Linked DNA regions of Homo sapiens: all the other regions are linked to region 3. The links are contacts of gene promoters, found by promoter capture Hi-C in blood cells and fetal thymus (Javierre and others, 2016). All regions are on one chromosome and are shown on one strand. The core of a region is centred on a gene start or on the middle of the fragment in contact, and the rest is flanking DNA. Distances in the headings are between cores, read along the strand shown. Region 1 overlaps GBP7 (guanylate binding protein 7). Region 2 holds the start of GBP4 (guanylate binding protein 4). Region 3 holds the start of GBP5 (guanylate binding protein 5). Region 4 holds the start of GBP6 (guanylate binding protein family member 6). Region 5 overlaps GBP4 (guanylate binding protein 4). Region 6 has its middle 20 kb from the start of GBP6.

Evidence for each region. The method cuts DNA at HindIII sites, captures the fragments that hold promoters and counts their contacts. A CHiCAGO score of 5 or more calls a contact.
Region 1: a contact is called between a fragment that was not itself captured here and the fragment with the promoter of GBP5 in region 3, in 1 of 17 cell types (total CD8 T cells). The highest score is 8.5, in total CD8 T cells.
Region 2: a contact is called between a fragment that was not itself captured here and the fragment with the promoter of GBP5 in region 3, in 8 of 17 cell types (activated CD4 T cells, total CD8 T cells, non-activated CD4 T cells and 5 more). The highest score is 29.9, in activated CD4 T cells.
Region 4: the fragment with the promoter of GBP6 here is called in contact with the fragment with the promoter of GBP5 in region 3 in 8 of 17 cell types (activated CD4 T cells, total CD8 T cells, naive CD8 T cells and 5 more); the score reaches 15.1 in activated CD4 T cells.
Region 5: a contact is called between a fragment that was not itself captured here and the fragment with the promoter of GBP5 in region 3, in 4 of 17 cell types (total CD8 T cells, non-activated CD4 T cells, activated CD4 T cells and 1 more). The highest score is 7.4, in total CD8 T cells.
Region 6: a contact is called between a fragment that was not itself captured here and the fragment with the promoter of GBP5 in region 3, in 7 of 17 cell types (activated CD4 T cells, total CD8 T cells, non-activated CD4 T cells and 4 more). The highest score is 10.9, in activated CD4 T cells.

What each region holds. Positions count from the first base shown.
Region 1 is chr1:89,160,241-89,165,034 of GRCh38, forward strand. It overlaps GBP7 (guanylate binding protein 7), which reads right to left. Exons shown (of 11, transcript NM_207398.3): 3 at 4,491-4,618. The region is part of intron 3 of LOC105378842 (a long non-coding RNA gene); the gene reads left to right. Among named protein-coding and RNA genes, the nearest start is that of GBP7, 13 kb to the right of the region's middle. The HindIII fragment of the contact is 480 bases long and covers 2,412-2,891 here.
Region 2 is chr1:89,195,867-89,200,550 of GRCh38, forward strand. GBP4 (guanylate binding protein 4) reads right to left here and starts at 3,076. Exons shown (of 11, transcript NM_052941.5): 1 at 2,929-3,076; 2 at 1,244-1,438. The coding sequence starts at 2,968. It overlaps LOC107985076 (a long non-coding RNA gene), which reads left to right and starts at 2,481. Exons shown (of 3, transcript XR_002958332.2): 1 at 2,481-2,542; 2 at 2,637-3,192. RefSeq lists a silencer at 2,880-3,174. The HindIII fragment of the contact is 2,961 bases long and covers 1-2,909 here.
Region 3 is chr1:89,269,970-89,274,740 of GRCh38, forward strand. It overlaps GBP5 (guanylate binding protein 5), which reads right to left and starts at 2,891. Exons shown (of 12, transcript NM_052942.5): 1 at 2,483-2,891; 2 at 786-893. It also overlaps the pseudogene LOC100421401. The HindIII fragment of the contact is 6,725 bases long and covers 1-4,771 here.
Region 4 is chr1:89,361,373-89,366,201 of GRCh38, forward strand. GBP6 (guanylate binding protein family member 6) reads left to right here and starts at 2,687. Exons shown (of 11, transcript NM_198460.3): 1 at 2,687-2,755. The HindIII fragment of the contact is 2,752 bases long and covers 394-3,145 here.
Region 5 is chr1:89,177,996-89,182,738 of GRCh38, forward strand. GBP4 (guanylate binding protein 4) reads right to left here. Exons shown (of 11, transcript NM_052941.5): 11 at 3,149-4,743. LOC105378842 (a long non-coding RNA gene) reads left to right here. Exons shown (of 4, transcript XR_947579.3): 4 at 1,324-1,803. Among named protein-coding and RNA genes, the nearest start is that of GBP7, 4.4 kb to the left of the region's middle. The HindIII fragment of the contact is 218 bases long and covers 2,947-3,164 here.
Region 6 is chr1:89,341,830-89,346,332 of GRCh38, forward strand. No RefSeq gene overlaps it. Among named protein-coding and RNA genes, the nearest start is that of GBP6, 20 kb to the right of the region's middle. The HindIII fragment of the contact is 2,708 bases long and covers 982-3,689 here.

The DNA.
Region 1 (4,794 bases), core at 1,402-3,901, 110 kb before region 3:
TAGGGGATATACCTAATGTAAATGACAAGTTAATGGGTGCAGCACACCAACATGGCACGTGTGTACATATGTAACAAAGCTGCACATTGTGCACATGTACCCTAGAACTTAAAGTATAATAAAAAAAATGTACCTTAACTTCCTCATATGTGAAGATTTTAAAATTTCACTTAGGGAGGAAGCAAAGTGAAGAACACAGATTTCACAGATGGGATGCCTGGCTTAGATTCCAGCTTGACTGCTGGTAGCTGTGTGACCGTGGGCAAGTTTCTTGACCTCTCTCTACTCAGTGTCCTTATCTGTCGAGTAGGGATAATAATAGTACATATTTCATAGGGTCGTTGTATGATTAAACAAGTTATTATTTACTGAGTGCTTAGAATAGTTCCTGGCACATAGTTAGTGCTATATGTGTTTAGTAAATAACTAAAATTAGAAATAGAGGTGACAAAAAAGAAATAATTTCGTCACAATAAAGGCTTATTTCTTTCCTTTCCAAATGCTTAAAAACAACACTTAAAAAAATTTCTTTTGAAAAAAATAGAATTAGTATGTTTTGGCTTTCATACTGCACAACAGGGATTTGTTACATAGGTAGACTTGTGTCATGGGGGTTCGTTGCATATATTATTTCATCTCCCAGGTATTTAGCCAAGTACGCATTAGTTTTTTTTCTTGATCTTTTCCCTCCTCCCATTATCCACCCTCAGATAGGCTCCAATGTGTGTTGTTTCCCTCTATGTGTCCATGTGTTCTCATCATTTAGCTCCCACTTATAAGTGAGAACATGTGGTATTTGGTTTCCTGTTCCTGCATCCATTTGCTAAGGATAATGACCTCCAGCTCCATCCATACCCTGCAAATGATCTTGTTCTTCTTTTATGGCTGCATAGTATTCCATAGTGTATATGTACCACATTTTCTTTATCTAGTCTATCATTTATGGGCCTTTAAATTGATGCCATGTCTTTGCTATTGTGCCATAATGAATATTCACGTACACGTATCTTTATAATAGAACAATTTATAGTCCTTTGGGTACATACCCAGTAATGGCATTGCTGGGTCAAATGGTAGTTCTGTCTTTAGGTCTTTGAGTAGTTGCCACACTGTCTCCCACAATGGTTTAACTAATTTACACTCCCACCAACAATGGATAAGTGTTCCTATTTCTCTACAACCTAACCAGCATCTGTTATTTTTTGACTTTTTAATAATAGCCATTCTGACTGGTGTGATCATGATAGTATTGTGGTTTTGATTTGCATTTCTCTAATGGTCAGTGATGTTAAGCTTTTTTTTTTCCATATGATTGTTGGCTGCATGTATGTCTTCTTTTGAAAAGTGTCTGTTCATGTCTTTTGCCCACTTTTTAATGTATTTTTTTGTGTGTGTGAATTTGTTTACGTTCCTTATAGATGCTGGATATTAGTCCTTTGTCAGCTGCAGAGTTTGCAAATATTTTCTCCCATTCTTTAGGTTGTTTGTTTACTCTGTTGATGGTTTCTTTTGCTGTGCAGAAGCTCTTTAGTTAGTTCCCATTTGTCAATTTTTGCTTTTGTTACTATAGCTTTTTTGGTGTCTTCATCGTGACATCTTTGCCCATGCCTATGTCCTGAATGATATGGCCAGGGTGGTTTTCCAGGGTTTTTATAGTTTTGGGTTGTATATTTAAGTCTTTAATCCATCTTGAGTTAACTTTTGTATATGGTCTAAGTAAAGGGTCCAATTTCAATCTTCTGCATATGGCTAGCCTGTTATCCCAGCACCATTTATTGAATAGGGAATCTTTTCCCCATTGCTTTTTTTTTTTTTCAGGTTTGTCAAAGATCAGATAGTTGTAGTTGTGCAGTCTTAAATTCTGGGTTATCTGTTCTGTTCCATTGGTCTATGTGTCTGTTTTTGTACCAGTTCCATGTATTTTGGTTACTGTAGCCCTGTAGTATAGTTTGATGTCGAGTAGCATCCAGCTTTGTTCTTTTTGCTTAGAATTGCGTTGGCTATTTTTTGCCTGAGCTCTTTTTCTGTCCCATATGAATTTTTTAAAAACAGTTTTTTTCTAATTCTGTGAAGAATCTCAATGGTAGTTTAATAGGAATAGCATTGAATCTATAAATTGCTTTGGGCAGTAAGGTAATTTTAACAATATTGATTCTGTCTCTCCATGAGGAAGGAATGTTTTTCCATTTATTTGTGTCATCTCTGATTTCTTGGAGCAGTGGTTTGTAGTTCTCCTTGGAGAGGTCTTTTACCTCCCTAGTTAGCTGTATTCCTAAGCAGCAATTATGAATGGGAGTTTGTTCCTGATTTGGCTTTCAGCTTGACTGTGGTTGGTGTATAGGAATGTTAGTGATTTTTGCATATCGATTTTGTATCCTGAGACTTTGCTGAAGTTGTTTATCAGCTTAAGAAGCTTTTGGGCTGAGACTGGGGGGTTTTCTAGACATATAATCATGTCATTGACAAACAGCAAGAGTTTGACTTCCTCTTTTCCTGTTTGGATGCCCTTTATTGCTTTCTCTTGCCTGATTGTCCTGGCCAAGGCTTCCAATACTATGTTGAACAGGAGTGGTGAGAGAGGGCATCCTTGTCTTGTGCCGGTTTTCAAGAGGAATGCTTCCAGCTTTTGCCCATTTAGTATGATGTTGACAGTGGGTTTGTCATATATGGCTCTTATCATTTTGAGCTATGTTCCTTCAATACCTAGTTTATTGAGAGTTTTTACCATGAATGGACTTTGAATTTTATTGAAAACATTTTCTGCATCTATTGAGATAATTGTGTGGTTTTTGTCTTTATTTCTGTTTATGGGATGAATCACATTTATTGATTTGCATATCTTGATCCATTCTTGCATTCCAGGGATAAAGCCTACTTGATCATGGTGGATAAGCTTTTTGATGTGTTGCTGGATTTAGTTTGCCTGTATTTTGTTGAGGATTTTTGCATTGATGTTATCAAGGATATTGGCCTGAAATTTTCTCTTTTGTTGTTGTATCTCTTCCAGGTTTTGGTATCAGGATGATGCTGGCCCCATAGAATGAGTTAGGGAGGAGTGCCTCCTCCTCAATTTTTTGGAATATTTTCAGTAGGAATGCTACCAGCTTTTCTTTGTACATCTGGTAAATTCAGCTATGAATCCATCTGTTTCTGGGCTTTTTTTTTTTTTGGTAGGTGGGCTATTTATTACTGCCTCAATTTCAGAGCTCATCATTTGTCTGTTCAGGGATTCAATTTCTTCCCAGTTAAGTCTTGAGAGGGTATATGTGTCAACAAATTTGTCCATTTTGTGTAGATTGTCTAGTTTATGTCCATGGAGGTTTTCTTAATATTGTATTTATGTGGGGTCAGTGGTAACCATCCCCCTGTCGTTTCTGACTAATCCTATTTTCAATTTATACTCAGACTAATATAAATAAAGGAAAAGACTGCACTTAATACTATAAAGCAAAATTATCTAGAATTAGCCAATTTGCAAATTTTTGTGTGGGGCTAGCTCACACTATTCTAGAAGTCAGTGATGACTACATTGCCTAGCCCAGTAAATTGGGTAAAAATTTTATAAATGTTCCCGGTATAGCTGGTGGTTTTCTTTTCTTTTTCTTTCTTTTTTTTTTGTTTTTTGTTTGTTTGTTTGTTTTGTTTTTGAGATGGAGTCTCACTCTGTCACTCAGGCTGGAGTGCAGTGGCATGATCTCGGTTCAGTGCAACCTCCACTTCCCGGGTCCAAGCGATACTCCTGCCTCAGCCTCCTGAATAGCTGGGATTACAGGTGCCCGCCTCTGCGCTGGGCTAATTTTTGCATTTTCAGTAGAGATGGGGTTTCACCATGTTGGCTAGGCTGGTCTCGGACTTCTGACCTCAGATGGTCCACCCGCCTCGGCCTTGCAAAGTGTTGGGATTACAGGTGTGAGCCACCGTGCCCGGCTAGCTAGTGCTTTTCTAGACATTTAAAAACAGGTTATTTCAGTGAAACTCTATTTTCCTGATTCTACCTTCAAGCCTACAAACCCCACACACCTTAACTAGTAGCACCCATTAATCCCACAGGTTACAGCTTCTTCCAGGAAGCTTTCTCCTAAATTGTATCATTAGGTTAGGCCCTCACTTTCAGCATCTGAGCACTCTAAATGGTCACAATGTTGTCTTCGCCACTAGGCTCTGAGCATTTACCTGGTTCATTGATTAGCGTAGAGCTTTGAAATTCAGGATTCTTTATTAATATAGCACACAGCCCTAGACTTCTGCCATGCAGTATTTATTAAATTTTATAATTCATCCAACTGTTAAAAATAAGAAGATGTATCACCAATAGTCCAAAATATTTGTGCTTACCAAGAAAGTAAGTTCCAGAAAATGAAATTTAGCTTTGTTTCCCATAATCAGATTTGTGATTCAGGAATAGGCCAGAGAAGTTGGATTGATACTATGCATAAAAACATAAATAGAGAATCAAAGGTAAAGAAGATTTCTCTATGTCTCTTTCTTACCTTTTCCATATCACCCAGGCCCTCCGTGTCCAGAAGGATCAGGGTGTGGTTTGGCTTGGAGGGGTGGGGCACACACCACATCCAGATGCCTTTGGTTTCAGACTTCACTGTGCAGCCCAGAGGGAAGCCTTCAAGGGAAGAGGAGAAACAACATATAGTGACAGCAGAATCCAGGCAGACAAGGCCTATACCAGTTAAATGTATAGGAACGTTAAGTTCCTGGCAGGGGAAACGGGTTGCTTCCATTTCAGCAAAGACAATCAATCAAATCTTTATTTGTATAAATGACTTTCTCAGGAGGTAC
Region 2 (4,684 bases), core at 179-2,678, 76 kb before region 3:
TAAACTTACTCATAGTGAAATAAATGGCATGCAACAATACATTCTACAGGGCAGCACAAGTTAAAAGGCTTTATGTTACTGAATTTTTCGCAGGATGTAAAATTCTCAGTCACTGCTAATAAGCATGTAAATTGCATTTGAATTTTGAAAAGCTATTGGACTTTATCTAGAAATTTTATGTACTCTCTGATTCAGAAATCCCACTTCTGAGAATATTACACAAAGGAAGATTTTGTACATGTGCACCAGGATATAAATAATAAGAGTATTAATGACAGCCTTATTCATTAAAGATAAAAACTGGAAAAATACCAATTTTCAACAATAAATAAATGTACTGTCCTTAGGTAGTGGCATACTGTCTGAGGGTATAAATAATGGGTACACATAGTAACTAGAGAAAACTTATAAACTTCTTATTGAGCAAAAGAAGCAAGACATCCAAAAATACACACAATATAATTTCCTTTATGTAAAGTTTAAAAGCAGACCAACCTAAACTATGTTTTAGAATGCATATATATTATGTAGAACCATTTTTAAAAACCAAGAGTCAAAGAAGTGTGCCCTGAAAACAAAAACACTGGTGAGTTCTAGTGAAGGTATGACAGGGTATGATTTTTGGATGTTTAGGTTTGGTAATGTTTTATTTCTTGATCTGGATAGTGATTTCTCATGTATTCACTTTATTAACTTCACTGTAAAGGTATGTTGTACATACTCTTCTTTATGTGTCATAGTTCACATATTAGAAAGACTAACTAGAAGGGAATATAATTTATCAGAGTTTTGCCATGAAATGAAGCAAAAAATTAGAAATGGTAGCCCAATTTAAATAGAGGATACACAAGAATTATAATGCCTGTCCTTCTTCATATTTATTTTTTAAAACAGGATCTATTAAACTATATTTGTGTGCTATTTGAAGTGACCAGGTATCCTACACAAAAGTGATGAATGAGAAAGAAAGGGAATAATTGCTGGGGCTGAGCCCCTGAAGAGGTGAGCATAGATGGGATGAAGAAGACCCATGGAACGGATCTTTCGATAGGGTTGAGATGATTCTTTACTATTGGACTAAAGAGTGATATATATTTGAGATTGTAAATTTAGTGGTGAGAATTAGAAGTTTTCTTCATTGGGAGAAGTCATGCCCTTCTTTAGGATGACCCTAGAGGGGGTGTGATCAGCTGTGTTATCACTGGTTCCAAGTAAATGGCTCCTGTCCTAGGACCACACTCACCATTGCGCTTTCCTGCAAGACGATTCATGAGATAGGATTTTCCTGTGCGGTATAGCCCTACAATGGCCACCACCACCACGGGCTGAGAAATCTTGTCAAGAATCTCTAATGCCTTTGAATTCACTGTCAGCTGCTCTTCCTGGTTTTCCACTAGACAAATGGGGGCCATCATGATGGATTCAGATTCTGGATAACCTGTAACCCAGAAAAAAATACTCAGTAGAATACAAGATCTTGAAGTCATCCCTAAGGGCTACCTAAGGCACATACATATTAGCTTTTTGCTTGTGGAATGGTATATAAAATTTCTACATTTTAATGGTATATAAATATATTTCTACGTTTAATGGTATATAAAATTTCTATGTATATAAAATTTGTACATTTCAAATGGAAAAATATTTAGTTTAGCATGTCAAAGACTAGTACAGATCTGTTATGTACATTATTTATGATTCTTACAAGAACGCTAAAAATGCCTTGTCAAGGTGATGCATAAAATAAACAGAATTAGAAAATCAAGGCACTGATGGCAGAATAATTCCACTCCTGGAATAAATAGGGGCAGGATGTTACAAAAAGGAGATGAGGAGTGGTTAGAAAAGGCTCCAGGCATTCCAGAAGAATTTGCTCTCTCATTAATTTAATAAAGAGTATTGCGTACCTACCATGTGCTAATTAACACCGTTCTAGATTCTCAGCAACAAGCAAGGAACATAATTGATACAAACTTCTGCCTCTTGGAGCTCTATTTGTTGTAACCCAGCGAGTTACAGAGAAACGCCACACTCTGAGACGAATTCAGGAGTCCTTTATTAGCCGGCGACCGAGAGACGGCTAGTGCTCAAAATTCTCTCGGCCCGAAGAAGGGGCTAGATTTTCTTCTATACTTTGGTTTAGAAAGGAGAGGTTGGGGGGAGGGGTCTAGTTAAAACAATCCTACAGAAGTAAAGTAGGCAAAAAGTTAAAAGGATAAATGGTTACAGGAAAGTAAACAGTACTAGGTGCAGGGGCTTTAATTCTATCACAAGGTGATAGAAGCGGGGCTTTGGGCTTTATCAACCAGACACAAACGCGGGGGGCTCTGGGTGCTGTTAACCGGGCGAATTCCTGGGAACTGCGGGTATGGCTTGCCACAGTACCTTATCAGTTAATTGCATTCTTGGATGTGCTGGGAGTCAGCTTGCACAAGTTAAGTCCCTGAGGAAGCGGGTGGGTAAGGGGCTGCAAGTGAAGGAGCCGAGATGCAGACTGTCTGGCTCTTTCAGCTAAGGGAGAGTCAACTCAGGTTAAAACAAGGTAGGGTATCACATATTCTAGTGGGGGACAGAAAATTAATAAAACAAACAAGCAAAAAATGTGTATATGTATACTAGATGATGGTATTTCGCAGGAGAAAATGCCACAGCTCTGGGAGGAAGCCCGAGGAGGAGCAGCGCATCCTGGAGACACCGGTGCGCCTCTGGTCGCCGCCTGTGGACCGTCTAGAGACGCTGGGCCACACGGAGCAAAGCACTCAGGGGTTCAAGCAGCATCAGACTTCCCCGCGAGGTTCCTCCACTGCCTTTGTCACCCGCCAGTGTGAAGTCTCCAACCCTCCCCGTGTGCAGTCTGCGCTTGGGAATTTGTTGTTGTTTGTTATAACCCAAATATACTTGAAAGGTAAAGCTTAAGAGCAAACTTACCTGGTGTGGGCACTGCAGCGTGAAGAGTTCTCTCACCCATTGCTCTGTCCTCCTGCGCCTGGATCCTCGAGAAACGGACTGTTCTTAGAAGCTGAAAGTCCAGCCGGATTTACAGACATCCAAGTAAGAGTCTGTGAGAACCGAAATTGAAAGGACATGCACTTTGTGGGGAGTTGACTGTTGGGGATTTTCCTGTTTATCAAGACAGGAAACTAAAGGAGCTTGAAAGTGCTGGTTCCTCCACACCAGACTCCTGAAACTCAGGTTTGTTTGTCCCTCTTCCACCCTTAGCTTAGGTATCTTTCGCCTCCAAAATGAATATAGAGCAGCAGACATGAATGTTGTTTCATCTACCTGTCTCTCAGGGGTAATTTTGTCAGGGAAGAAATTTGAGTTTTTGTTTGCTTTTATTTTTTTTTACATGCTTATATGTTTCTGTTTCTCATCTCTTTTCTTTATTTTTTCATTAACCATAAAATATGTGTGTGTTTGTGTGTGTGTCTATGGATATCTATGTATCCTCTAACGTTGTTGCCCAGAGGTGCGGTGGTGGCAAGTAAATACTTCTCTTTCAAAACACAAACATCTCATTGAAACTGGATCTTTTGGAGGACAGGAGGATGATTGGACCATAAAAAGCATAATTTATAATTAGGAGTCTTACCCAGGCTACCAGAAAAATGGACTCAGTTCCTAAAATGACTAGCCAGTTTGTTAACAGAGTTTGGGAAATCTATCTGAAATAAATGGGTAATGATTCCCCATTTGTGCCTATCCCTTAGATCTTCCTATTTGTTTAGTAATGTCTGATTAAACATTTGCAAATTAATAAGTACAAAATTTTAGGCACTTAATCAGGTAAAATTACTGGTGCCGATTTTGATTCAAAACTTAACATTTATTTCCTATAAGCAATATTGAAAGTGAAAATAAAGCTAAGTCAAGTTTTAAATAGGACCAGTAATAAGAAATCAGGTGCTTTTTTCTCTTACCATTTTTTAATGTCAGGAAGTCCCTCTCTCTTAAAAAAAAAAAAAAAGAAGAAGAAGAAAAAGTACAGGGATGACTGAATCCAGGTAAATGTGTTTGAAACACCTGAATTTCACCAGTGGCACCCCTTTCCAGATAATCCAATGTTACTGACTTCAGATAATCATGGAAATGTTAATCAAGAAGAAATTTAGGCTGGGTGTGGTGGCTCACTCCTGCAATCCAACCATTTTGGGAGGCCAAGGTGGGCAGATCACTTGAGTCCAGGAATTGGAAACCAGCCTGGGCAATATGGGGAAACCCCATCTCTACAAATAATAATAATAATAAATTAGCTGGGCATAATGGCATGTGCCTGTTATAATAGTCCTAGTTACCTGGGAGTCTGAGGTGGGAGGATGACCTGAGCCCAGGAGGTCAAGGCTGCAATGAGCCATGGTGGTCCCACTGCACTCCAACCTGGGCAACAGAGTGAGATACTGTCTCAAAAAAAATTGTTAATTCACAGTTGTATGTATAATGATTGCACATAGCAATATGTCTATGCACATAGAAAATATACATAGCAATATGTCTGTGTTACACAGATAAAAGTCTATAAGTGTTCCCCCAACCACTACCTCCTTAAAATTAGTACTTCTAGCTCAGGTGATTTTTTTAAAATGTCTTTCTGAATTATATGAATTTTTAAAGACTTTTTTTATAATCACAGATATGCACACACATACTCATAAAAAGGAAATAACTTTTATTTTGATAAAAAGAC
Region 3 (4,771 bases), core at 1,641-4,140:
TGTTCCTTTTACTTTGTGTCAACTTCATTTTTTTCAGTTAGATCTATGTCCAGTCAAACTGCATTACATTAAATACTACCAAGTCATTATGCAGCATTATCTAACAAATCATAGCTGTTTGCTTCTTAGTGATATACTTGAAATTTTTTACATAGTTACTAATGTGCTTTATTAAACCAAAACTTCAAAGCATGATTATTTTATGATTGACTGAATGAGTAAAACAACTTCCTTTAATAATACTTAACCTATTTTTTTCTAACTTCTGAGCATCAATCCCTATAACCTAAAGAGTCTCTGGTTAAAAAAAATGTTTGAGCTATATGAGAAAAAGCAAATGCCATAAAAATATGCTTTTCTACTTTGCCTTATCATAAAGGATAGTTTTCTTCCATTTTAAAGGTGGTTATTTACTAAGGATGCTAAAACTTCACTATCCGCTTGACGAGTTCTTTCACTAAAATCTTACAATGAAAAGGTTTGGATTCTCCATCTCTTTACTAGCAAATTTCAAAAACTGTCATTTTACAATTATGAAGACCCATTCTCCCTGCTTCCTCATAGCTAATGCCCTGGAAATCATTATGTTGACATAAATTAAAACAGAAACTGCTTGGCAGCAGAAAATAGGATATCCATTTGCAAATGGTGTAGCACTAGGACATGGGAGTCAGGAAATGCCTAGTGCAAGCCTGACCCAGAAAGAGGCAATTTTGCAACAAATTTAGAGACTCAAATGGCAGGTCTCTTCTCATTCTAATCTATTTTCAATGTAGTATTAGTACCTTATATATGTAGAATTCTGGTTGCCTGATTTGTATGCAGCGGAGGCCAGAATAATTTTTCCACTAGAAAGATATGGGCACCTTGAAGTGATGATCTACAACAATTAGCTAGAAAAACAAAAGATACATAAGCCAAATCTATAAGCAGATATTGAGAGCTTACAAGATCTTATGATTTGGGATGATGTCACTAAGGAAGAGGGAATGAATGTGTCTGAGTGTTCAGACTCTCTTATGAATGACAATAGCATTGTATATCTACATTAATAATAGTATTTGACATGTTGTCCCCAATGTCATCTGGATAGCATCTTTAATGCTTTTAGTAAAGCCAAATTTCTAAAACATTATTGCAGATTTAATGTGTTCAAGCCACAAACATAACTGTTGCTCTGTTATTCATAACTTAGTGTTCTGGGATGCATTCTCCCTAACTGCTTGAGCCCTATAACCTTTGCAAATAAAAACAATGCAAGAATGGTTCAAAATACACACACAAAATGCACATTTTGCCCTTGCCTTAAATTAGACTTGATTTCCAACCCCAGCCCTACAACTGGCTATCTGTATCTCTCTGGCATTTCACTCAATTCTTTCAGCTTGTTTTCTAAAAAAGCAAAAGTAAATAAACAACTATTTATTAACATCAGTATAACTGCTGGCTTATGAAAGAGAGTGAGCGAGCTGCAGGAGATTTTAAAAAGTGCAAAGAAGGAAAATGCCCAAAAAAAAATACTAAGAGAAAATGCTCAGAAGTGGTAGTGGAAGGATTTCTGAAAGAAAACATCTGTTTTCAGCCATATGATTCTAGTTTGGGTTTTGCGCCTGCATTTGTATATGTAGTTGTTATTGCTTGCTTTTGCTTATTTTGCATAGTTTCTGGTTTGAATTTCAAGGAAAAGGAAAAGGCTCTTATTAAGGATATAAATGGAAATCAAACTAGTACAAAATGCTTGAAGTATGTGTCATGGTAAGAAATTCAAAGGAGAGAATTTCAACGAGTGAACAGTTGCCAGACAGTATTGAGGGATCCAGTTGGGCAACTGTTAAATTAGGTGATTCATAATAGTAAAGGCAATAGAGTAGTAGAAGCAGAACCCAACACAAAAGGGGTTAGTTAAGTGAGTAGATGCCAAGAAACCAACATGAATTAAGTCAGGGCTATTGCTAAAGGAAGAAATCTACTTTCAAACAAAGTACAAGACTATGACTAAAAATACATCACTGTTTTCATGAAACTTCTCTCTGGGCAACATTTTTTTCTTGTCCTTAATGTTTGCAAGCTACTTACATTGCATCATATTCATTGTTCTTTCTCATGAAAATAATAGCTATCATAGTTTTTGAAACTTTCATGCTGAAGTTCGAGTCAGTTTAATCAGATTTTATGAAGGACGAAGGTAACTTAAGTGGAAATTATGATCCTGAATAAGTCATAAAATTGCAAAGGAAGAAAAATAATTTGAAGGCATTTCAAACTCTTAGTTTAGTCACCACACACATTGATGTCTAATTCAGCAAGAGGCAGACACAGCTGGTACTTGATGAATTCTGCTGCCTGTCTGATAAGAATACAATTTATTCTTTACTGAGGTCTGATATACCACATCAGGATAAGCTGCATCCTATCCTTTGTAGAATGTTTCTAAAACCAAATGAATCTTGCAAATCTCTTCCACCTCTTGCCCCAGTCTTACCGTGTCCGGAATTGGTGGGTTCTTGGTCTCACTGACTTCAAGAATGAAGCCGCGGACCCTAGCGTTGAGTGTCACGGTTCTTAAAGGTGGCGTGTCAGGAGTTTGCTCCTTCTGATGTTCGGATGTGTTTGGAGTTTCTTCCTTCTGGTGGGTTCGTGGTCTGGCTGGCTCAGGAGTGAAGCTGCAGACCTTCGCGGTGAGTGTTACAGCTCTTAAGGCTGCGCGTCTGGAGTTGTTTGTTCCTCCTGGTGGGTTCGTGGTCTCGCTGGCTTCAGGAGTGAAGCTGCAGACATTCCCAGTGAGTGTTACAGCTCATAAAGGCAGTGTGGACCCAAAGAGTGAGCAGCAGCAAGATTTATTGCAAAGAGTGAAAGAACAAAGGTTCCACAGCCTGGAGGGTGACCTCAGTGGGTTGCCACTGCTGGCTACTTCTCTTATCTGGCCCCACCCACATCCTGCTGATGGGTCCATTTTACAGAGAGCCGATTGGTCCATTTTACAGAGAGCTGATTGGTCTGTTTTGACAGGGTGCTGATTGGTGTGTTTACAATCCCTGAGCTGGACACAAAAGTTCTTCATGTCCCCACTAGATTAGCTAGATACAGAGTGTGGATTGGCCTATTTACAAACCTTGAGCTAGATACAGAGTGCTGATTGGTGCATTTACAAACCTTGAGGTAGATACAGAGTGCTGATTGGTGCATTTACAATCCCTTAGCTAGACATAAAGATTCTCCAAGTCCCCACCAGATTAAATAGATACAGAGTGCTGATTGGTGTATTTACAATCCCTTAGCTAGACATAAAGATTCTCCAAGTTCCCACTAGACTCAAGAGCCCAGCTGGCTTCACCCAGTGGATCTTGCACCGGGCGGCAGGTGGAGCTGCCTGCCAGTCCTGCTCCATGCACTGGCACTCCTCGGTCCTTGGGCCATGGATGGGACAGGGTGCTGTGGAGCAGGGGTCAGCACAGGTTGGGGAGGCTCAGGCAGCACAGGAACCCATGGCGGGGTGAGGTGGGGAGCGGGAGAGGGGAGGAGGCTCAGGCATGGCAGGCTGCAGGTCCCCAGCCCTGCCCCACCGGGAGGCAGCTAAGGCCCTGCAAGAAGTGGAGCACAGCAGCTGCTGGCCCAGGTGCTAAGCCCCTCACTGCCTGGGGCCGCTCCGAGTGCAGGTCCCTCAGAGCCCAAGCCCACCCAGAACTCGCGCTGGCCCTCAAGCACCGGGCGCAGCCCCAGTTCCCACCCCTGCCTCTCCCTCCACACCTCCCAGCAAGCTGAGGGAGCCAGCTCCGGCCTCGGCCAGCCCAGGAAGGGGCTCCCACAGTGCAGCGGAGGGCTGAAGGGCTCCTCAAGTGCCGCCAGAGTGGGTGCCCAGGCAGAGGAGGCACCGAGAGCGAGGGAGGGCTGCAAGGGCTGCCAGCACGCCGTCACCTCTCATTACCTTGATTATAAAATCGGGAGAAGAGGTATTTTAGAGCTAGTAAGAAAACTGCTTCCATGAGGGACTGGGCACGGTGGCTCACGCCTGTAATCCCAGCATGTTGGGTGGCCGAGGCGGGTGGATGACGAGGTCAGGAGATCTAGACCATCCTGGCTAACACGATGAAACCCCGTCTCTACTAAAAATATACAAAAAATTACCTGGGCATGGTGGCGGGCGCCTGTGGTCCCAGCTACTCGGGAGGCTGAGGCAGGAGAATGGCTTGAACCTGGGAGGCGGAGCTTGCAGTGAGCCGAGACTGCACCACTGCACTTCAGCCTGGGTGACAGAGCGAGACTCTGTCTCAAAAAAAAAAAAAAAAAGAAAAGAAAAGAAAAAAGAAAGCTGCTTCGATGAGAACTTGCTGAGTTCGAACTCTCGTCTTTTACTTTCACTGTGGTGATTTCTCATTTATTTTCTTCACTCAGTCCTGGGGTTTTTGTTCTTCCCACCCCATTTTCCCTGCTCGAAAAAGGAGACAATTTGAATACAAAATATGGAATAACAGAAAGGGGGATTTTTGAAAGTTCTCTGTAGGAAATAGAAACCAAAAAGGAAATTCAGTGACTAAGCCAGATGACAAAGGGAATTGCCCAACTGTTACCTAGTGTAGATAGGCTGGATGTATTTGACCTGACTTCTTTGAAACTGCATGTTTCCTAGAAACTGCAGAGAATCCTTTCAGTGCCAGCCATACTCCTCCCTGCTTCCATTGTTGTTGTTACTAGAAGAGAAATTTGAGATCTTTCACAGTTGTTCAAAGTATGTGGTATTTCAAACCTAGCTTGAAATACGTTGACATTCATC
Region 4 (4,829 bases), core at 1,437-3,936, 91 kb after region 3:
ATCCTTATCAATGCTCATCTATTTTTTTGTAATAGCCATCCTAACAGGTAGGAGGTGATATATCACTATTGTTTTGATTTGCATTTCTCTGATTATTAGTAATGTTGAGAACCTTTTCAATATATTTTCAAAATATTGTATTTTATTTCTGAGCTCTCTATTCTGTTTCATTCATCTATGTGTCTATTTTTATGCCAGTTCCATACTGTCTTAATTACTGTAGATTTGTTATACATTTTGAAATCAGTAAGTGTGATGCCTCCAGCTTTGTTCTTCATTCTCAGGTCACTTTGACTATTCTGGGTGTTTTGTGCTAAGCTCCTGGCTTGACTTCATGGACCATCCAATATATGCAACCCCATAATTAACACATTTTCTAGTTTCCCTATCTAAAGCTTTAGACATCTTGGGGCTTTGCTGATCCTGGAGAGACTGACCCTCCCTGGGCTTGCCAGTTCTTAGAGATACTACAGGATTCTCCTGCAAGTGTGCCTTTCATATGCAAACCAACCAACCTGGAGCCCACACCCCGCCACTTTCTCTGTTGGCTCTCATTCTCTGGGCCACTATCCATCTGCCCTACTCACCGAAAGGCCAAATATCAAAAGTAAGAACAATCCCTCTGCCCCAGAGCCCACTGAAATTATTCCAGCTAGCCAGTCCTAAACCTGCTTGCCCTGCTAGTTCTAGTTCACAGTTGCTCTCGACATTTACTCCAGTTCTTTGCCTCCTTGACTGCAATTGGAACCACCTGGAGGTGGGGCGAGGCTTTAAAAAAACACTCACACTCACCCTCAACTCTAGACTTACTAAATCAGAGTCTCTGGTGATGGATCAGAGCTCAAGTTTTTAAGGAGAACCTCAATTGATGTTTATGTGCAGCAAGTATTAAGAATCACTGGTTTAGTCTTATAACATCTAAAGGAGGCCTCCTACTAGACTCTTTACTTTAGACAAGCTCTGGTCTTTGACTTTTGGCCTCTTCATAAATGCCTTCCAAACTGAAGGTCACATTCCCTTGGTTGGCAAATGCTATTAGAAAAAAAACAGCTTCAATACTCCACTTAACTCTTTGGGCGTTCACCTTCCCTTGGAATTTGGTCTTTAAGATCATTCATGACAAATTAGTCAATTTTTAATATTGCTTTTGAAAATATTAAACATTTTTGAATCCAGAATTTTCCTTTTTTTTTGAGATGGAGTCTCGCTCTGTCGCCCAGGCTGGAGTGCAGTGGCACAATCTCGGCTCACTGCAAGCTCTGCCTCCCAGGTTCACACCATTCTCCTGCCTCAGTCTCCTGAGGAGCTGGGACTACAGGTGCCCGCCACCACACCCGGCTAATTTTTTTGTATTTCTAGTAGAGAGAGACAGGGTTTCCCCCTGTTAGCCAGGATGGTCTTGATCTCCTGACCTCGTGATCCGCCCGCCTCGGCCTCCCAAAGTGCTGGGATTACAGGAGTGAGCCACCGCACCTGGCCCAGAATTTTACATTTTTAACACAAGTCTTTGTCTGAATAGAGTATTCAGATTAGTCTACCACACTCCCCAAATCCTCAGCCTAAGTTATTGCCAAAACTCATGTCTGCTCATTCTGCCACTTGCTTCTGTTCTCAAATCCATTTAGCAGTGCAGCCATGGTAGACAGTCCCAGCATGCTGCTATGTCCTCTGTAGAGAGTCTTTCTCCTTTTCTCACTCAGATGTTTCTCCAAGCTGTGAAAGGGTGTCTATTTTGCCCAAGGGCAGCTTGTGAATTCAAAATAGTTAAAGTCCCTGGGGATAAGACTCAACCAATGGAAACTGTGGGTTGTTGGATAAATAGTCCACATCAAGGGTCCCAAACCCCCAGAGCATGGTCTGTTAGAAACTGGGCCACACAGGAGGTGAGTAGGGAGAGAGCACTAAGGCCTGAGACCTGCCTCCTGTCAGATCAGCAGCAGCATTAGATTCTCATAGGAGCTTGTACACTGTTATGCACTGCACATTCCACCTTCTATGTCCATGTATGCAGATTTTTTAGCTTCCACTTATGAGTAAGAATGTGGTATTTGACTTTCGGTTTCTGAGTTGTTTCACCTAAGATAATGAACTCCAGTTCCATCCATGTTGCTGTAAAAGACATGGTTCATTCTTTTTTTAAACCAGTAATATCTTTAGCTCTCTCTCTTTCTCTCTCTCTCTTCTGTGTGTGTGTGTGCATGTGTGAACACATTTAAAATATCAAAAGTTCTTCACTAACAAAAGACCCCAGAACTCAAGAATTCCCACTAAGAGAAAAATGCTTAAAATATTCTTGGTTTCTAAGGCTTTGCTTATGTGACTACTGTAGATTTCCTGTTTTTCTTGTGTGCCTAGGAAACTAAAGCCACCTGGGAACGGTATCAAGAAGAAAGCCTGTGAAGCCTTCTAAGATGGGAAAGACAAAAGAAAGCTGGCAGGATTGTGCTTGCTAAGGTGTGACTGTGCAGTATCTGTGGCTTTTTCTGACCTCCTCCCACCCCTGCACCCAACACCCATCCTCAAACTCACATCGGATGATTCAGGCATGGCTCTGCTAACACTTTATTAAAAGCATGGATTAATTTTACTTCCAAGTTTATTTTTACTGCACCATCCCATTTGTGGAAACAACTAGCTTACTCAGCTTTTTTTTCCTTTTATAAAGGAAAGAACAGAAAAGTAAAAGGAGGAAAGAAAACAAGAGGTGAGTGAGGCAACTGAAAACTGTTCTTGGACCTGCGGTGCTATAGAGCAGGTATGTTCACTTTCTTTTAAATGCAACTTAGTTCCTAACTCAAGACTTGGTTTCTGATTCAGAGTGGTAACTGAGGAATGGGCAGGAAGGGCAGGGTGCCTGCTGCCTGGCCTGCAGGAGTCTGTGGCTGGCTTTAGTTCTGGGGAAGCTCAGCTTCTCCACTTGAACCAGTGACAGCCGGGCACGCCGCGTCCCCCTGGATGTGCTGTTCCCTGATCATCAACTCAGGACAGCAGTGAGTGGCCTGGAATGAGCCCTGGTGGGCGCCTGCCTGGCTATCTCTCTCAGGTCCTGCGGCAAGCCCCAGAATGCAGAGAACAAGGAGCTTCCAGGCAATTATACCGGAAGGGAGAGTTTCTTGTCTATCTTTCTAGTGGTCACACTTAGGAAAGCTTCAGAATAAGAGCTCTATAAATCTCTATGTAGAAATAAACTTAGGCCCCACATCACTGGTCTTTATTACTTAAAAATAATTATATAGTCCAAACTCTGTGTGTGCGTGTGTGTGTGTGTGTGTGTATGTGTGTGTGGGGAGGGGGTGGGGGAGGAGGGGGGTGTTAGTTTCCCATAGGAACATCAGAGTCTCTTGTAGCTCTTGCTAAACAGATGGATACTTAGGCCTGGGAATCTGGGTTTGAACAATCCTCTCAGTTGATTCTTTAAAAAAAAAAAAGATGAAGAATAGACACTATGTTTAAAATAAAAAAGATTTTTTTAAAAACCACCATGTCCCATGGTGGTTTGCTGCACCTATCAATCCGTCATCTAGGTTTTAAGCCCCGCATGCATTAGGTATTTGTCCTAATGCTCTCCCTCCCCTTGCCCTCCACCCACTGACAGGCCCCAGTGTGTGAGTTTCCCACCCCCACCCCCAGCGCCAACCCCCCGCCGCCCGTGTCCACATGTTCTCATTGTTCAACTCCCACTTACCAGTTAGAACACGCAGTTTTTGGTTTTCTGTTCCTGTGTTAGTTTGCTGAGAATGGGATCTAATTAAAGAGCTTCTGCACAGCAAAAGAAACTATCATCAGAGTGATCAGGTGATTCTTATGTACATCAGAGTGTGAAAACCAGTCCTGAATAGGATTGAACAGCTGTATTTCATTTAGTAGAAGTTAAAAGGTCTGTGGTTCCCACACAGCTAAGAAACCAGAGACCTGGTTTATATAAAGTTGTTTGCAGGAGCAGCCACATCTTCCTAGAGCTGCCTTTATTGTTCACTTTAAAGAAGGGACTGTACAGTTGCAGTCACTGTAATGTGATGAACACGTTACACATCACATTACAATGCATTTCACTGTGGAAATCAGGACCTCGTGTTTGATCTCCATTTTCCTTACTCCCCTCAGTGAAGAATCAGACAAGAGCAGGTTGTACAGCAACAGCGTGCTTGAACTTTACAGTTTTGCTTCCGTGAAAAATTTATTTGTAGTTTTTGTTTCTTAGTAACTTATAGTTTGTATATTTTGTTGAAATATATAATCTAATGGACCAATTGTTATTGTAATTATTGTAGTAACCTCCATTTAATTCAACATTTACTGAAATCCTATTGTGTGGTGCATGCTATGCAAAGATATAAACTTATAATGTCTCGTTTTATTATCAAAACACCCTCCAGGTTGGATGTATGATTTAACTCACAGACCCCTATAATTAACAGGCTCAGCTAGCTTGACCTCCTTGGTCAAGGCCACATAAGTAGTGAATGATAGAGCTGGTATTTTTGGTGGCATTAGATGCATCTTGAGTGTCTGACATATCAATTCTAAACTGAGTATTTGAGGCATTTGAAGACAATATTATGTTTACATTTTTCTAATTATAAGGAAATACAGGTATCATAGAAAACCATTTTAATATAATGGCAATAAAAATGTGCCAGGAGACCTACAGAATAATTGTACTTTCAATACTAAATTTATGGAATTAAACTTCACCTCTAAAAATATTACAATTAAATCCCATATGCCTTTCACCTCGATTCACCCAAAAGTGACATTGACTTTATCTCTCAAAAAGAAATCTCTCTAACTTATCTATTAATATGTATGTACATAATTTCTCTCTCTCT
Region 5 (4,743 bases), core at 1,806-4,305, 92 kb before region 3:
AGGGAAACATGTTATATATAAACCAGCTAAAAATAGTGCAGTGTAAATGCTGGGCGAGGTGGCTCACACCTGTAATCCCAGCACTTTGGGAGACTGAGGTGGGTGGATCACTTGAGGTCAGGAGCTTGAGACCAGCCTGGTCAACACAGTGAAACCCCGACTCTGCAAAAATACAAAAAAATTAGCCAGGTGTGGTGGTACATGCCTGTACTCCCAGCTACTAGGGAAGCTGAAGCAGGAGAATCGCTTGAACCTGGGAGGCAGAGGTTGCAGTGAGCCGAGATAGCACCACTGCACTTCAGCCTGGGTGACAGACTGACAGTCTCTCTCAAAAAATTATTTTATAAAACATGAATAAGAAAAGACATTAAAATTAAAATTAAAATGACTAACAGTCACCATTATTACATGTAATTGAGACTACTAAAATAGTTTTACATGCAAATTGTATAAGAAGAATAGAATGTGTTTTTTTTTTTTTTGTAAAACGTTATAAGAAGGTATGGAAAAGTAAATTATTGCCTAGGGTTAAACAATTGTTTTAAATTAAGATAAAGCTAAAAGTTCAAATAAGTGGTGGAAGGTTTCTAAAAATCTTGCAAAAGAAATTCTCTGTGTGAACATATTGACTAAATTCAGAAAGGTATTATATTGTTTTTCTGTAAACTGAGCATTAAAAGTACAATAAGGTTTTCTTAAGGCACTAATTTGCTCTTCGGCAAAATTTGTAAAGGGTTATAAAAGGCTTTTGCTTCTTTAATATTTCTGAGTCAACCTTTTGGCAAAATACATCATTCATGGTAATCTGGAATTCTATTTCATAGTATCAAGTGTTTTAAACTCCGAACATATTTAACAGCCTTCCCAAAATCAAACTTCAGTTTCAAAATTGTCTTTCCCGATGCCTGGCTTTTTGGAAGGATCAGGGGGCCCCTGAATCACCCAGAGAAGAGGTAAACAGGATTATTTAACATGTTTAGGTACATAGTATTGCCAAAATGTTGTTCAATCTTTAGGTTATATTTTTGTGAATAATGCTAATATATGTCCCAAAATTGTATGAGATTTCTAAAATTTTTAATGTCTAAGTACATGCTGTCAATTATAATTATAGTTATTATATTAAGTTATAGTAGACCACATAAATAACCAAATTTCCTTGTATAAAGCTACTAATCTAAGTAGAACAAAAAAATTAATTGAATAACCAGGTTTTGTTTTTCCTCTTGCAAATGTCTGTAACGAGCATTCTTAACAGCATAGGTATCCACCTCCTGAAGTTCCAGTTAAATCTTTTAACCAAATTCACTTTCTCTCACCTAGAGACCATCAAGCTTCAGAAGATCATGTGACAAATGTTCCAGCCAGTTCCAGTTGAAGACACCACCCCTGGCCATCAAGAAGCTACTCTGCCTCCACTAGACAGAGCAGGGTGACAGTTCCGTGATCCCCAATAGGTAGGGACTTTGCTTCAAGCCAGCATGAGGCAGTTACAGAAGAAAGACCATTAGTCACTCCACCTCCCATAAAGATTTATGGGGATGACATCTCTCAGGGAGGAAATGAGGCAGGAAAATAGGATCTGGAGGCATAGAACATAAGGCCTATTCACACTTCAGCTATGCCGGGAAATATTATCTCCATTTACATAGGGCATACACAAAGTAACCAATGGAAACCTCTAGAGGGTATTTAAATCCCCCAAAATTCTGTAACAGGACCCTTGAGCCCCTATGCTTGGGCCCACTCCCACACTGTGGAGTGTACTTCCATTTTCAATAAATATCTGCTTTTGTTGCTTCATTCTTTCCTTTCTTTGTGTGTTTTGTCCAATCCTTTGTTCAAGATACCAAGAACCTGGACACCCTCCACTGGTAACAATAAGCTTGAGGAACATAAAGTCAATGGAGTGTCCAGTCCCTCAGAGAGAACAGGGTGGCAGATTAAGACAACTGGGCATATTCTTTCTGACTCAGTGAGTCTTTTCTGCATGACTTCCTAAGATTGTATATTTTATGTTGAGAGCTCTAGAGATTGGGAATACAGTAAAGATATGGTAAATTGGGGACCTACTGGAGGGTAGAATATGTATTTAATCAACCCAAACTTGAGCCTCTGTGCTGGCTTTTGTAGTTGGAACTAAAGATAAGTTGATGAGGAAAATGAAGCGCCTGAGATCAAGAGGTGGTAGAGAGAAGTAAATAAGCATTTTTAATTTCACAGTTATATAAAAAGTTCAATGGTAGGAGTAACAAGTTGGTGCCATGGCAACCCAAAAGGGGCATCTCACCAAGCCTCAGAAAGTCAGGAACCAGGACATCTTAAGGATGAGCAGGATTTGGTAGACAAAGGATAGAAGGTGAGGAAGCAGGGTTGTTTTAAGAAGTCTTTGTCCCCTGCAAAAGGGCCCTCAGTCAAGAGAATACTAGTTGACAACCCAGGGAACGTTGTATTTGACCATATATTTGGGGATAAACTTTGAAATCTTGTTGAAAGGCCATAATAAAAACAAAATTAGGATGCATGTTTTGTGCCCTTTCTAGTTCTCTGTTCCAAAGAGAAGATGTTTCCTGTTGAGCAGACTTATGCTATTTCTAGTAATATTAATTACTTTCATCCTGTTGTGGGACCTCTGCCATCCATGTATTATGATTTCAATTTTTAATTTGAATAATTGTATTTATCCATTTTTGAATACATGATGAATTTACATAAAATGTTGAAGACATATATGATGTAGAGTTACCCTCTCATTTCTCACCTTAACTATTCAGTTCCATTCCTGGTATGACCAGGATACTAGTATATTTTTTATTTTTCCAGAGGGAGCTAATAATGTACACACATATTCATTAGTTCCTAAATTAAGTGGTAGCAGCATACTTTCTGCATCTTTTTTTTTTCTAATGCTATATCTTGGATACTTTCTCATAGTAGTACAAATAAAGCTTCCTTTTTCATTTTAGTGACTGTAGAATATTCCTTTGAAAGTATGTCCCAAAATTTACCTCATCGGTAAGTGACAGATATATATATATTTATATACCAAATATATACCAGATATATTTATATTTATATACCAAATATAAAAATAAAATATATATATTTAGTTTCACTCGTGTCTGTGTGAAGAGACCACCAAACAGGCTTTGTGTGAGCAATAAAGCTTTTTAATCACCTGGGTGCAGGCTGGCTGAGTCCGAAAAGACAGTCAGTGAAGGGAGATAGGGTTGGGACCATTTTACAGGATTTGGGTTGGTAAAGGAAAATTACAGTCAAAGGGGGTTGTTCTCTGGCGGGCAGAGGTGGGTGTCACAAGTTGCTTAGTGGGGGAGCTTTTGAGCCAGGATGAGCCAGGAGAAGGAATTTCACAAGGTAATGTCATCAGTTAAGGCAGGAACAGGCCATTTTCACTTCTTTTGTGATTCTTCACTTGCTTCAGGCCATCTGGACGTATGTACATGCAGGTCACAGGGGATATGATGGCTTAGCTTGGGCTCAGAGGCCTGACATTTAGTATATTTACTAAATAGATATAAAATATATTTACTAACTATAAGTATATATTTACTAAACATATACATTTATATTTATATGTACTATATAAATACCCAATAGTAGAATTGCTAGACAAAATGTATGTACATTAAAATTTTGATATACAATTCCAACAGATCACTCTCACTAGCCAATATGAGACACAGTCAGTTTCCCTAACTCTGTGCCAGCTCACTGTCCTGTTCTTCCTATGACAGAGTTGAAACAAGAACCTTATAGTTTTCCTTTGAACAACTTTTATTGTTAGTAAAATTCAACATTTTTAATCTCATATTTTTGTCTATTTAAAAAATGTGGCGTTAATAACATTAAGCCAAGAGCCAAATCAGGAATGCAATCCCATTCACAATTGCCACAAGAAGACTAAAATACCTAAAAATACAGCTAACCAAGGAAGCAAAAGATATATATAATGAGAATTACAAGATACCCCTGAAAGAAATAAGAGATGTCACAAACAAATGGAAAAACATTCCATGCTCATGAATAGGAGCACAGCTTTGTAAATAAAGGACATAGGGTGAGGAAGCCGGGTTGTTTTAAGAAGCCTGTGTCCCCTGTGAAAAGGCCCATGGCATATCTTGTAGAATTACAAGGAGTTCATTCTGTAGCAGGATGAGCTGCAGACAAAACTTCTCAGACACCGAGTTGGAGAAGGAAGGGCTTTTTTCAGCTGGTGGCATCAGCAAGCTGCTGCCTTAAAATCCAAGCTCCTTGAATGCACAATTTCTGTCCCTTTTAAGGGCTCACAACACTAAAGATTTCACATGAAAGGGTCATGATTGATTTGAGCAAACAGGCGGTACATGACAGGGGCTGCATGCACTGGTGGTCAGAGAGAAACAGAACAAGGCAGTGAGTTTCCAAATGTTCTTCTATACAATGTCTGGAATCTATGAATAACATCGGTTTCTAAGTTATGAGTTGATTTTTTTTTTTTTTTTTTGAGACGGAGTTTCGCTCTGTCGCCCAGGCTGGAGTGCAGTGGCGCGATCTCGACTCACTGCAAGCTCCGCCTCCTGGGTTCACGCCATTCTCCTGCCTCAGCCTCCCGTGTAGCTGGGACTACAGGCGCGTGCCACCATGCCCGGCTAATTTTTGTATTTTTAGTAGAGACGGGGTTTCACCGTGTTAGCCAGGATGGTCTCGATCTCCTGACCTCGTGATCCACCCGTCTCGGCCTCC
Region 6 (4,503 bases), core at 1,086-3,585, 71 kb after region 3:
CTCAGCCCAGCAGTCTGTAGGCTCCCTGAGTGAGGAACTAAATTTGGTAGCCAAAGGATGGCCAGCCTCACTCCTGGTAATCACAGCAGTAGCCCTGCTGGTACCGGAGGCAACTAAGTTAACCATGAGGAATAACTTAACCATTCATATCCCACATAATGTGGGAGGACTACTGCCTTCTAAGGGAAGTCTCTGGCTAACATACAACTGACTCCTCAGGTATCAAGCTCTGTTATTAGAAGAATCTTCAGTTCAATTAAGAATCTGTCCCTCCCTAAATCCAGTCACCTTCCTCCCAGAGGAAGCCGAGGAGCTTGAACATGACTGCAAGCCAAATAGTAGTACAAACCTATGCAGCCAGAGAAGACCTCAAGGAAACCCCCTTAGAGAACCCAGGCTGGATTCCCTTTGCAGATGGAAGCTCTTTGGTAGAACAAGGAACCCATAAAGCAAGGTATGCAATAGTTACTCTGAATGATATTGTTGAGAGCACACCTCTCTTCTCAGGTACAAGAGCTTAACTAGCCAAACTAATCACCCTCACAAGGGCATTTGAATTAAGCAAAGGAAAAACAGCCAACATTTATACTGATTCTAAGTACACTTTCCTAGTCCTACATATCCATGGCACTATCTGGAAAGAGAGGATCTTCCTCACAGCTAATGGGTCTCCTATTAAATACCATCAGGAGATAAATAGACTATTATCCTCCATTTTCCTCCCATGGAAAGTGGCAGTAATACATTGTAAAGGCCACCAAAGAGGGATAGATAAAATAACTGACAGAAATAGGCTGGTGGGCTGAGCAGCTAAATCAGCAGCAAGGGGGTCCCAGATCTCTGACCCACTTGAATCCCCACTAATCTGGGAAGGACCCATCAGAGAAATAAAACCTCAATATTCTTTTGTGAAAATAGAAGGGGCCACCTCTCAGGGATACATCTTTCAATCCTCAGCATGGCTACAACTGGAGGATGGCAAGCTTCATCTACTGACTGCCAACCAGTGGAAAGTTCTTAAAAGGATAAAATCTATCAACTGGCCCAGAGATTGTTCTCAGGTAAAAAACTGATAGAAATGGTTAAACAGGTTGTTAATGCTTGTGAGACCTGCCTTAGAAACAATCCTCTTAATTGACAGCTTCTTCCCTCAGGAACCCAAAGTATAGGAGGCTACCCAGGGGAAGACTGGCAAATGGATTTCACTCATATGCCAAAAGCAAAGGGCATCCAGTACCTCCTAGTATGGATAGATAATTCACTAACTGGGTAGAAACATTTCCATGCCAAACAGACAAAGCCTCTAAGGTGACAAAAGTACTAATCAATGAGATAATTCCTTGCCTTGGACTCCCTAACTACCTCCAGAGCAATAATGGTCCCTTGCTCAAGGTGGCTGTCACCCAAGTGTTCTCAAAGTCACTAGGCACACAGTACCATCTTCATTGTGTCTGGAAACCACAATCCTCAGGAAAGGTAGAAAAGACAAATGATATTATCAAAGGCATCTCAGGAAACTATCTTAGGAGACTCACCTCCCCTGGATTACCCTTCTCCCCGTAGCCCTACTGTGTATTAGAAACACTCCTTCAAAGATAGGTTTGTGTCCCTTCAAAATGATGTATGGACACCCTTTTCTCACCAATGATTTCTTGCTGGACCAAGAAACCTCTGATTTAATTAAACACATAACCTTTTTGGCCCATTTCCAACAGCAACTGAAACAACTGTCAGAGGCCCAATCCCATGAACCAAGGCCACTTCTATTAAACCCAGGGGTCCTAGTGCTAGTAAAGGTACTTCCTTCCCTCTCTCCCTCTATAGGTCCAGGTTGGGAGAGACCTTTCACTGTACTTCTTTCTACTCCTATGGCAGTGAAGGTCACTGGAATAGAGTCTTGGATTCATTATACTAGATTAATGGCCTGGAAAGCCAATGGAGTCACCTGAGGTGACTCTGTCAACCCAAAAGAGCACTCAAAGTACCAATGTGAAGAGATTGGGGACCTCAAGCTAAAAATCACAAAAGATAAGTGTTAATAATTAACCTTCCATGGATATCCTCTTTATAGTCTTTCCCATGCTTGCTGTTCTTACCTTTGTTCTGTTCTATACAGTGAGGCACAATATTTTTTTCAGAATGATTAGTATATTTCACTTCTTATTGCTGTAATATTTGGCAGTAGATTCCTTCCTTGTATAATACACATGTTTAACCCATGCATACTTAACCTTATAAAAACTTACTTTTTTTTCCTCTCACCTAGAGGCTATCAAACTCCAAATTGTCAGGCAATGGAACCCCAGAAGAACGGCTCCCTTCTGCTTGGGACCCCTAGATAGACCTCTGGGAGAAATCTGACTGCTGTTTTCCCTGAAACAATGCCCCTTATTAGCAGGAAGTAGCTAGGATTGGTCATTGTCCATATTCTAATGGCAGTTAGATGTGCCTCTTCAGAGGGGAGAAATGATACAGACAGGAAACAGGGAAATACTGGTTAGAAGAGGGTGGTTCCCCAGGAAAGACCCTGCCCTCAAGCCTGAAAAACTATGGCCCTAAATGAGAATAGGCATTCTGTTTTTGCAACAGAAAGTTGTCTTTTGGCCCACCACACACCCCTATTTTGTACCCATATAAACCTCAAACCCCCAGTTCCACAAGGAGACATACAGGAGAGCAGAATGGCAGAACAGCAGAGCAGAGAGGAGAAGGAGCATCTGAATATCGAGAGTTCAGTTGGAAATGGTTGGAGAGATTGGCCACTAGACAGGCAAACTCCAGAAGAAGATTATCTTCCCACTCCATCCCCTTTCCAGCTCCCCATTCATCCCACTGAGAGCCACCTCTACCACTCAATAAAACCCCCGCATTCACCATCCTCAAGTCTGTGTGTGAACTGATTCTTCCTGGACAATGGACAAGGACCTGAGTACCAAGGGGGCACTAAGCTGGTTAAAACATAAGCCATCTGCAGATGGCAAAGCTAAAAAAAGTGTACTGTAACACACACCCATTTGGGCTTTAGGAGTCACAGGCACCCACCTCTAGATGCTACCATGGGGCCGGAGCCCTAAAGTGCATATCCCAGCTCCTGCACCTGCCTGACTGCCTGCTCATGTTCCTGTAAAGGGATTGAGCACATACGATGGCTGAAAAGATGAGACATACCCTGTCACACGTCCTGTGATGGGGGTCACGGGACTCTCCCATTTCACTACCGGACACTGGCTCTGAGCTGACATTGATTGCAAGGGACCCAAAACATCATTGTGTTCTTCCTCTTAAAGTAGGAGCCTATGGAGGTCAGGTAATTAATGAAGTTTTAGCTCAGGTCCAACCTACAGTGCGTCTGGTGTGTCCCTGGACTCATCCTGTGGTCATTTCCCCAGTTTCAGCATGCATAATTGGCAAAGACATACTTAGCAGATAGCAAAACCACCACATTGGCTCCATGAATGGTAGAGTGAGGGCTAATTATGGTGTGAAAGGCCAAATGGAAGCCATTAGAGCTGCCTCTACCTAGAAAAATAGTAAATCAAAAAGAATATTGCATCCCTGGCAGAGATTAGTGCCACAACAAGATCTTGAAAAATGCAGGGGTGGTGATTCCCACCACATCCCCATTCAACTCTCCACTTGGCCTGTGCAGAAGACAGATGGATCTTGGAGAATGACACTGGATTATTGTAAGCTTAACCAAGTGGTGACTCCAATTGCAGCTGCTGTACCAGATGTGGTTTCATTGTTTGAGCAAATTAACACATCTCCTGGTACCTGGTATGTAACCATTGATTTGGCAAATGCCTTTTTCTCCATTCCTGTCCATAAGGCCCACCAGAAGCAATTTGCCTTCAGTTGACAAGGCCAGCAATATACCTTTACTGTCCTACCTCAGCAGTATATCAACTCTCTGGCTTTGTGTCATAATCTTGTTTGGAGTGATTTTGATTGCTTTTGTCTTCTACAAGATATGACACTGGTCCATTACACTGATGACATTATGCTGATTGGATCCAGTGAGCAAGAAGTAGCAATCACACTGAACTTACTGAAGTCTGTTGAGATATTTCTTCCAAGGTGAATGATAAGTTTCTGCATTTGGCCCCTCCTACAACCAAGAAAGAGATGTAACGCTTAGTGGGCCTATTTGGATTTTGGAGGCAACACATTTCTCATTTGGGTGTATTACTCTGCCCCATTTATCAAGTTACCTGAAAGGCTGCCAGTTTTGAGTGAGGACCAGAACAGGAGAAGGCTTGGCAACTGGTCCATGCTGCTGTGCAAGCTGCTCTGCCACTTAAGCCATATGACCCAGCATAGTGCTAGAGGTATCAGTGGCAGATAGGGATGCTGTTTGAAGCCTTTGTCAGGTCCTCATAGGTGAATCACAGTGGAGGCCTCTGGGATTTTGGAGCAAGGCCCTGCCATCTTTTGCAGATAACTACTCTCCTTCTGAGAGGCAGCTCTTGGCCTGTTACTGGGCTTTGGTGGAAACTGAACATT